Linked DNA regions of Homo sapiens: region 2 is linked to region 1. Evidence: promoter capture Hi-C in 16 types of primary human blood cells and fetal thymus (Javierre and others, 2016). All regions are on one chromosome and are shown on one strand. The core of a region is centred on a gene start or on the middle of the fragment in contact, and the rest is flanking DNA. Distances in the headings are between cores, read along the strand shown. Region 1 holds the start of PRCP (prolylcarboxypeptidase). Region 2 holds the start of PICALM (phosphatidylinositol binding clathrin assembly protein).

The links. The method cuts DNA at HindIII sites, captures the fragments that hold promoters and counts their contacts. A CHiCAGO score of 5 or more calls a contact.
Region 2: a contact is called between the fragment with the promoter of PICALM here and the fragment with the promoter of PRCP in region 1, in 1 of 17 cell types (non-activated CD4 T cells). The highest score is 7.2, in non-activated CD4 T cells.

What each region holds. Positions count from the first base shown.
Region 1 is chr11:82,896,992-82,901,679 of GRCh38, forward strand. PRCP (prolylcarboxypeptidase) reads right to left here and starts at 3,439. Exons shown (of 9, transcript NM_005040.4): 1 at 3,244-3,439. The coding sequence starts at 3,411. It overlaps LOC124902602, which reads right to left. Exons shown (of 2, transcript XM_047427953.1): 2 at 3,923-4,688. The coding sequence ends at 4,033. RefSeq lists enhancers at 3,165-3,214, 3,335-3,394, 3,545-3,644, 3,925-3,974 and silencers at 4,185-4,234, 4,285-4,374. The HindIII fragment of the contact is 4,585 bases long and covers 2,424-4,688 here.
Region 2 is chr11:86,065,623-86,071,005 of GRCh38, forward strand. PICALM (phosphatidylinositol binding clathrin assembly protein) reads right to left here and starts at 3,462. Exons shown (of 20, transcript NM_007166.4): 1 at 3,029-3,462. The coding sequence starts at 3,158. It overlaps LOC124902731 (a long non-coding RNA gene), which reads left to right and starts at 4,302. Exons shown (of 2, transcript XR_007062823.1): 1 at 4,302-5,383. RefSeq lists enhancers at 2,108-2,810, 2,811-3,512, 3,252-4,451 and silencers at 3,077-3,126, 3,197-3,246, 3,387-3,556, 3,707-3,976. The HindIII fragment of the contact is 7,123 bases long and covers 2,306-5,383 here.

The DNA.
Region 1 (4,688 bases), core at 2,189-4,688:
TGATTTGGGACTCACATTCTAGCCTGAGGGGCTCAGGTGGGAGGTACAAGGTAATAAGCATGCAACATTGTAACCACAAGCCACATATTCCAGAGAGCCCTTTATGACACTGATACCACACATACTACACATGTACCCAGAGCCTCGATGTGCCCAAGTGATGTACTATCCTCTCTCTGGTCTCCTAATTCAGTTATTTCAGGTAAAAGAAATCAAATAGTCCTACCTAACTCAATATTTGAAGACCTTGAAAAAGGAGGAAAAAATAATTAGTAAAGAATTAAAGTAAAAGATAAAAAGAAAAATAAAAAATGATTTGTGACAATTAAATGATGGTAGCCTTTGCTTTGTTTAGGTTCTTTTTGAATAATCATGCATTCACTCTTTCAACAACTATTTATTTTGTGCTTTATACTTTTTTATAGGCTCTTCTAGGTATTGTAGAGTACTAACGAGCTGGAGGGACACATACAATATAGTAAATGTGCAGGATGAAAAAAGACCAACTAAATTTCCTTAAAGAAGTCAAAGATTCGCAGAAGAGGTGAGACATTTCTGCTGGAATAGAATTATGAGTTTAAATAGTGGGGAAGAGGGATGGTATTCCAGACAGAATTTCTGACACAGTAAAAGTCACTTGAGTCTGTTAGGTTGCTAAAAGTGGGAGCTGGGATGGGGAATTATGGCAGAATATAAAGTTGGAACGACCAGCTAGGGTTACATAGTAAGGAACAATGGATTCCCATGCCAAGGTGTTTGGCCTTTATCCTGCAATCAGAGTTATGAAGAATTTCTAAGCAGGGGAGGGATAAGACCATGGGCTAAGCCTTCTTAGAGACCACTCCATAAAACCACATCCTTTATATACATAGAAGGACAGCTGGGTCCAGCTTGGTCACTGGGGCAGATATAACCACAGGTAAATCATTATAAAGTTTAATAAAAATTAAACCTTGAATAAAAAACTAAGCCTTACAGTTTTAATAATAAGTTTATTACTAGAAGGCATCAAAGTATTTCATGTGCTCTAACTTAAAAACTTAAAGTTGAGTTCACACATAGTCCTAACTAAAAATCAATGGTTCAGAAATTGGCAACTAGTATAATTATAATTATGCAATAAATACATATGTAAAAGTTTTCCTCAGAAAATGAAATAAAACTCAATTGGAATAGACAGAAGAAAAATTATTATTATGGTAATAAATACATACGTGGAATCTGTATCCTAAAATATAAATTAAATATAAGCCAGTGGACAAAATGTGGCTGAGTAAAGCTGGACTTTGCATATCATCAAAAATGGAAAAAGAAACAGTGTTGAATTATATTTCTAAGGAGTGTAGTGGCCAAGAAAAGAATCTACAATAAAGGAACATAAATTAGGAACTAAGGTACTAACAACTCATTTGTTCCCTTCCTCTTTTCTGCTGATAGTTCTCTTTTTCATCAATCCCAATGGGATTTTAGAGATCTCCCAATCCAATAGTCCTCCCCACCGTTTTACTTTAGCAGTTGAGTTCTGCAAATAGTTGTATATAAAATCCCAGCATATAAAACAGGTAAAAGCTGAAAGAGATCCAAGAGAGGGTACTAGAGCACCTAATTTGGCCTCCACTTCAGCCTTCATCCACTTTCCCTCTGAAACAGCTCCCCAAAGAGCCCTTAATTTTCCTCAGTAAAGTGTAAAACACATTGGTCCTTGTCCCAACCCTCCTAATTTACAAATGAGGGAATTATGCCCTAGAGAATTAATTTAAGGGAGTTGCCTGAGAAAAAAGATTATTTCCTAGTACCCCTGCTAAAATTAAAATGTTTTCTCTTCCTCATAAACTTGAACTCAAATGTCTGGGTTAAAAATTGTTTCTTGGCTGGGGACACAGTGGCACACGCCTGCAATCCCAGCCCTTTGGGAGGCCAAGACAGGGGCATCGCTTGAGCCCAGGAGTTCAAGACCAGCCTAGGCAAGATGACAAAATCCCATCTCTATTTTTAAAAATAAAAAAATTTTTAAATTATTTCTAAGTTATTCTGGAAGTCTATGACATCCCTCTACCACAAATTCCCATTCCAAATTCACATAAGGGCTGGGCTCAGTGGCTCACACCTGTAATCCCAACACTTTGGGAGGCTGATGCAGAAGGATTATTGAGCCCACAAGTTCAAGACTAGCCTGGGCAACATAGTGAGCCTTGTCTCTGCACAATTAACAACAACAAAATTTCACATAGGTCTATAACCACATATTATATGAGTGCCTACTTGAAGCCAGATACTCTGCTAAGAGTACGTTATCTGCTCTCATTCAACCATCACCACAAACCCCAAGAGATCAAGGAACTAGGCTCACAGAAGTACTGTAACCTGCCCAAGGTCACAGAGCTAGCAGGGTGGAATCCGGTTCTATCTGACTCCTAAAGCCAAGCTTCAGACCCTTGCACTCTTTCTAATCCCAACCTTTTCCAAATCTTTTCCTATTTTTACACAGGCTTTCAGAAATGCTGAACTGTAAGGATTACTTGTCATTTCACAGAGGATGTACTTTTCCATCAAGACCTGTGGGGGAATGCCTCATGCTGCAGCCAAGCACAAAGGCATCAAGCCCAAAAACCTCTAATTTCACGTTACAGACCATAGAAAGGCTAATCCCCACCCCCACCACAAACTCCTACAACTCCTTTTACAAGCATAGGCTACATACATTCAGTCTTATGGGGAATAGGGACTGTCAACAATTCTTAATAATAGGGCTACAAAATCAGCTCTGAGCTGACCCCTTCTGAGAGGCTGGCTTTTAGGATGGATAACTATCCAATATTTTCTAATAGGTAAAGATATTAAAATTTGTATTTAGGGCTGCCTTGGGGCAAAGGATGACTATCACCGCAGACTAGGTACCAGAGCTGGCATTTAATAATTTGAATTTGAGGGAAGGTCAAGGGAGTTCGGATTGGGGCACCCTCTGGGAGCAGAGGGAGTTGAAGTGACTGTCGTGTCCAATTACAGAAAAGCCTGAATCAAGAGTATGCAGCCAAAACTACTACCAAATTATTGGTAATGGGAGGAGAAAATTTAAACAGAACTGGGATTTGGGACCACCTTCTGGAAGATGTTAGCCAAAAACCGAACAGATCCTAGGCATCAAGGGGTGTGAATTTCGAGGTAGGCTCCGTTGCCCGGGCTCTGAGGGTCAGGGTTCCCGGCGGTTGGGCCTGGGACGGCGAAGCCCCCGCTCCCCCTTACCTTCTGTTGGAAGTAGAGAACCGAATAGTTCTTGGCTACAGCCGGGAGGGATGTGGGGTTGGTTGGCAAGTGTAGGCTGCCGAGGGCCCTTAAGGCCGGCCGGAGGGCTATGGTGGCCCAGGGCGCCAGAAAAGACAGAAGCAGGAGCAGGAGGGCTCGGCGGCCCATGGCTCAGGCTGGAGACTGCAGTGCGGGTGGGAGGGCGAAAAGGAGGCCAGCAGAAGCGCACAGGCTAAGCCCTGCCCAGCCTGCAGCTCCGCCCGCCGCAAAACAGCTCCTCCCAGGGGAAACCCAAAGCCAGCCAGCTCCTCAGAGACGCCGCCCAAGCCAGGTCACCACAGCCACTCCGCCCCCATCCCCGAGGACACCGCCTCCACTCCACTTTCCTCTCGTGCCATCTGCTCCTTAGCACTCACCTTCATTGCGGTCACACCCCAAGTCTGCCCTTATCATGCTAGGGCCTCTTCCTAACTCATCGCTGTAGCCCATGCTTTATCTATAGCGCCCCCGAAGCCCACCTGTCCTTCAGGTCACCCAATATCCCTACCATTATCATCACCACCAAACCCTGCCCTGGCCACCGCAATTCCATTGCGACACCTCCTGCCTTCCGCAAATCCTACGTAACGGCAATAACAGCTACCATGACAATTTATTGAAGGTTCACTACAGGCCAGTGTATCACGAGGCAGGGAGGCACACGCATCATCTCCTCTAACTAAATCGTCACAGCAATCTTGTGCGTCGTATATGATTGTTATTCCCATCTACAGATGTGGAAACTGAGGCTCAGAGAGGTGCGGGAACTTGCACTAGATCACTCAGCAGTGAGCGGAGCACGTCGTCGCAGACCGCTGGGTCCAGGTCCAAAGACTGTGCTCCTTGCACCCACCTCCATCTGGAGCCTAACCACTCCCTATGATACTCCGTTCTTGGGTCACCCCAAAACTGTGTTGCTCGCACAACCCATCCATTACACAGGTCGCCCCGGGTCCACATCGCCCCTAAATCCCGCCAGGTCCCGGTCCCTTCTTTCAAATAACGCCCCCTTTCTTCTCCGGCACCCGAAAACCCACTCCGCGCTCCACCCCCCTCCTGCCTCCTGCCACCGCCCCCTTCCTCCCTCCGCCCGTGGGTAGTGCTAGCCCCTAGGACAGCGCCGGGTCTGGCTTCCAAAGCTCCCTCAACCCTCTTCATCCAGCTTCCATTCCCTCTTTCAGTCACCCCGCCAGACCCCAGGGCGCTGCGGCTCACTCCACACTTTCCCGGGAACCCTACGCCCAGGAGGCTCAGCGAAGCTCCAAAACCAATTTTACGGACTGTACTACTGATCCACCTGTCGGGGAGAAAGACTCTACCCGCAGTTTGACGAAAATGGTCGTTTCCAGATGCTTGTAGGATTTCCTCGCTAAGCTCCACCCTCTGCGGCGCCTTCTTCTGATTGG
Region 2 (5,383 bases), core at 2,212-4,711, 3.2 Mb after region 1:
TAAGGGCTGCTATTCCTCTACCTTGATTATGGCTACTAAAGGCCTAAGATTAAACGGAAATCGTGTTTATTTTTACAAACATATTTCAAGTTTGACAACTCTTTCACACTAGGGATGCTAGTCAACACTATTATCCACTAACACCTACAGTATAAGCAAAGCAAAAAAATCTTTCTTCAGTAAGTATATAATGTAGTATGAATTAAGCCATAATTCATGAATTATTAATAATCACTTCCTAATGTGGAAAGATCTTGGCGAGAAACTGACAGAAACCACCTCCACACTCTAAGGGCTTATACGAAAAACAACAGTCCTAAGCATATTTTTTGTTAAATGCTGCCATTTTAAAATGAAATCATTTTCATTAGATTCATATAAATAAGCATCAGTTGCTAGGGGCATTAAAAGGTGCACATAAACTAAGCTTTCACTATAAAGAAAAATTCCTAAAAGACAAAAAATTACTTGAAATGACAGGTTTCTGTATTAAAGCCTAAAGTTCATGATGTCAACACCATGAACTGTCCGTAGAAGACTTTTTAATTTTCTCAAAGCATGTTAGTGTGTGCAAGGAAGGTATTTGTTTAGTAAACCACTCACTGGTCAGACTTTACCTAAGATAAAGGTATTTTATTAGTGAGAACTGATTACAGGACATTTTAATCAACAATGTAGGGAAAATAGTATCCCTGTATTTTAAAACCTCATTGAAAAGAAACAGAAGCACATTAACGACACATATATTTTTAAATCAAATACTACCAGGTATATTCAAGTTCCAAAAACGTGGGAGCTTGTAAACACAGAAGTGGTAGAGAAAAAGAACGACAAATGCAAGATTATCCTCCAAACCTAATCCCAGTTACCATCTATCTGCAGTAGTGGCTATAACAAGAGAAATAGCTAATAACATTTATGAAACAACATGCAAATAGCACTCTTCTAACCCTACCTATTTTCTCCTCTTTTTGACAATGCTTTAAAAGAACCACTGCTACATTTGAAATAAGACACAAACCTTTACAAAAAAAACTTTTAAAAGCCTTATCGATTCTTATTTTGAATGAGGAAAGAGGAAAATAGTTCACACAGTCACAACTAGTTTCTTCATACTCCCATACAAAAAAAAAAAACAAAAAAAAACCAAAAGCAACTAACAAAAGAATTAACACAGTGTCAGGACAAACTGTAAGATTTGGTAGGGCAAACCAAGTAGTATTTGAAGAGCCGTAAATAGCAGAAACGTCTACTACACGTATCAGATAATCAAAAAATCACATATGGCTTTACGATGCATTTTAAAAAGTTTTCTGTTCATAAGAGTGTCACCATTTAAACATATTCTCCATTCTCTAAGACAAGCAAGGACTGAGAGTTTAAAAGCAGCCTGCATGCATATCTGAAAGAATCAAGCACTAATGCTTTTTTATTTAAAACTTTTTTCCACAGTGGAGGAACAATCACAAAGAATAATAGGCTTCTGTGTAGCAAAAACTTGTTCTAACAGCATTCATGAGCACAGTAACTTGGAAGAATCTACATTTCGTACATTTTTTTTAAAGTGCAAACTTTACGGCCAAAGTCCAAATGAGAAATCAAAACAGGCTTCCAGACAGTGAATTATCTTTCAGGGCATGCTCACTCTTGCTTCAAACAGTAAAACAAAGTAACTTTCATGTATGATGAAAGTCAGTCAGACTAATGTGTCCAGTCATTTAAAAAGGGAACTTACTTATCGTGACTATTGCCCTATTTTTCCCTGAAAAGTTTCAGGTCTAAGCTCCATTGGCTTGAGTGATCCAATGAGCTTTGTACCCTGGGGTAAAAGAGCGCAAAGAAAAAGGAGGGTATTACAGGTGACTTCCAGGTTAGAAAAAAGTTACGAGGAGTTAGCTCTACTAATTGTATCTACGTTAGCGAATGGACGAATACTATGTCGTGTAAGAGAAGCTAAAGCTAGTTCCTCAAAAGGTAACTGGCATAATTAAAACATCCAAACTCAAGCATCATCAAACATCATTTTGCCAATTTTTTTAAGGGATGTATGTTATTTGTAAGTAAATTTATTAATCCATTTGGAATTCCAACAGTCTACGCTTAACACTCAAGCTTCTGAATTCAAGCCGCCAGAATTAACAGTTCCAGGAACTGATAAGAGTATCAGCAAAATGCCTTTTTCCATATCCCCATGTGAAAAGCTGGGGGGCAGAGCTGACAGTCACAAACTCACCCCAGTCAAAAGTATGGACAACACAACGATTAAATTCCACCAGAGGCAAATAAAAATCCCAACTTTCCAGAAAGCTTTCCCTACACCAAATTGAATCCTTTTACTTTCACTCCCACAAAGAAGGTAATCTGAAATAAAAGTCGGGTAACTGGGTATGGTATTTAAAATGAGTCGAAGAAACTACACTGAAGCTACTATAGAGGCGATGAAAAGGTAACCCAAAAGCAGGAGGGAAGGTGGAACAGAAAGCCAGGAAGGGATGGGCGAAGCAGCTAGTGGAGCAAAGGAAGTGGGGGATCCCTTCCAGGGAGGCAGCCCGGAGGGATAACAAGGATCTGGATGCAAGGAACCAGGCGTTTACTGAAACCCGAAGGAGGCTGATGAAGAAACAATGGGGCTTGGAGACGCTCAGACGAGGGCGACGAGGCGGCACCGGACGGGTGGGAAGGAAGAGCAGAAGGCTGCAGTGGAGACGGGTAGGGGGTGAGAAGCCAGGTGGGGAAGCAAGTTGGTTGGGTATGATGGGGTGTGGTAGCGCACCGGGCAGGGAGACGAGGGTCCCCTAGGAATAGGGAGGGGAGTGGCTTGTCAGATTTTGAGACGGGGAGCGGAGGCCGTGAAGGCAGGTGTGATGGAAGCAAAAGAACACAGCTCAACGGGCACAGGACCGGCCGTGCCAGAGAAGACGCAGGGAGGGAAGAGGCAGTAGAAGGGTGAAAGACAAGAGAGAGAGAGAAGGACGCGCGCGGGTCGCGCGGGCGCCGGGGAGCGGGGGCCGCGGTCGGCTTCACTCACAGTCCAGGTGCTTTTTCTTGGGCCCCATGATCTCGTGGGTCGTGGCCTTGCATACTGTCTTGGATACGGCAGAGCCGGTGACACTGTGCTGGGCGGCAGTGATTCGGTCCGTCAGGCTCTGGCCGGACATCTCTGCAGCTCCTCCACCACCCCACCCGCTCAGCAGCCGGCGGGGACTGGGACCCCCAAGAGCCGGAGGGTCCCCACCCCCCACCGCACCCCCTACCCCCACCGGCTCCTTCCCCGCCTGCCGGCCTGGGGCGCGGTTCGGGGCCGCGCGCTGCCACCAGTCCAGAGAGAACCGGCTCGTGTCACCCGCGGAGTCGGACAAGATGTCGGGCACTCCCTTGCCCCCGCCTCAGTTCAGCCCACCCCTTCCCGGGTCAGCTGGAGCCGGGCAGGGTAAGAGGAACAGGCAGCTGCAGGAAAATGGCGGCGCCAGGCTCCTCCTCGGAGCTTTCCGGGCTGCCCCGGGTCACGTGACTCGGACACCGCCCCTCCTCCCTTCTCCCGCCCCTTTCCCCTTCCCTTTCCTCTTCGACGCCCGCCCTCCCTCGCTCAGCGAGGGAAGAGCTGGGCGGCGCCCGCGCGTTACGTGATGGAACTCGCCAGGCGGGCGCAACAGGAGGCCCGCCCGAGGGGAGTGCACAGCCGGCGCATCACGTGACTCTCCCTGCCAACAGGTCGCCTGAGGCTCGGCCCGCGGGGTCACAGACGCCGGGCGGGGCGGGGCGGGAGAGGAATGGCGAGGGCGGTGTGCTGGCGGGGGTGGGGCGGGGCGGCAGGCTTCTCCCCTTATCCCCCCACCTCAAGTGTGTCCTCGTGTCTGTGGTTGAAACCAACAGCTTGACAAAGGAGGTGCAGCTGCCTTCACAGCTTCCCCTGAAGTGGGGGGTATTAGGCCTCTGGCTCCCCGAGCTTTCCCAGCAGAGTCAAGAATGTATTTCAAGACGCCTCCCAAAGCCGCCCTCCTGGCTTAAAGGAGAAGGTTCCAAACGGCCTATTTTCTGAACCTTCCAGCAGGCCTCTCTCTACCATGGAACTATTGAAGCTCTCCTTATTTACTTACCCCAGAAAGGTTTTTTCCCCCCTTTCCTTGAGAGGCTTGGAAATGTCACCTGGTTTTGTTTATCTCTACTCCGAAAACCCGACACGTTGCTGCCATTCTAAATTTAGATACTAGCTGGCCGGTATTCATTCTCTAGGGTGTGGAATAGGACAGGAAACACATAGCTTCACTGGAATTTGAAAAGGGAAGTAGTAGGATGATGTCAACAGCGATTAGCTTGACCCTACATGGCTGACTGCTGTGGTGATTAAAGGTCCAGACCATAGAAGGAAGTGAGAGGGGCGGTAAATGGAGAAGTCCCATTCAAACAGTCCAGACATCACTGCCTGCCATCTCCCCTGGTTTAGTCTTTCTTACCTTTGGCCTCTTTTCTCTTATTGGGTGAGCCAGATTTCCATGGAAAGACGTTGACACTGCCCTGTGGACATTTTAAAAGAAGTATTACATCCTGAAATACTATTCAATGAGACCCAGACCATACATTAACAAAGCCTTTTATATGTTATTAGAGCCTCTACATTCAACCCAGGGTTAGGGATAAGTTGAAAAATATGTGAGTGCTAAGTTACCATGATAGTCACATGTAATCTTGCTAGTTTCAAATGAAATGCTAACATTCTCAGAAAGTCTGTGTACACCATCTGCCAGCCAAATCCAAAATACTGTGCTTCAATCTGGTGACTCTCAAAGGATGCAAAGCTGATAGATATTTAACATTTTATGTATCATATCAGGAATTTTGTGGTCTCCCATTTTCCCCACGCCCCCTCACCCCTCTTTTTTCCCCACTATGGCTGGTGAAATTCTGCAGCAACATGCTCTTGCCAAGAACACACAAGTTTTTAATCCCAGCAGGCTTCATCTTTGTCAAGCCAGCCTCCAATTTCACAAAACTATAATGAATTCCTTCAGTGTACTGCAATCCATCTGTGGTTTGGTGCCCAGTTTGCTGCCCCACGTCCACTGGGCAGTGGAATTACCAAATTCTCAAGACATGTTATCAGCCATCATTGCTACTGGTCTATGGGTTCCACTGTATAAGTTACTGATTGGCCTGAGCCTCTGCATTGGTAAACCCCAATCTGAGGTCAACACTAACATGGTCTAGCTATCAACAGCTGAATATTTTATCCTTAGGGAAAATGCCAGTCATTCCTAAGTACATAACAGGAAAGTATTACACTATTACTTTTACCAAAGAGGTTCTTTCAGACCACTTTTGTGACAATAATTGTTGACATGTTTACCCTATTAACAAACAAGCTGCTGTTAGAAATATTTTATTT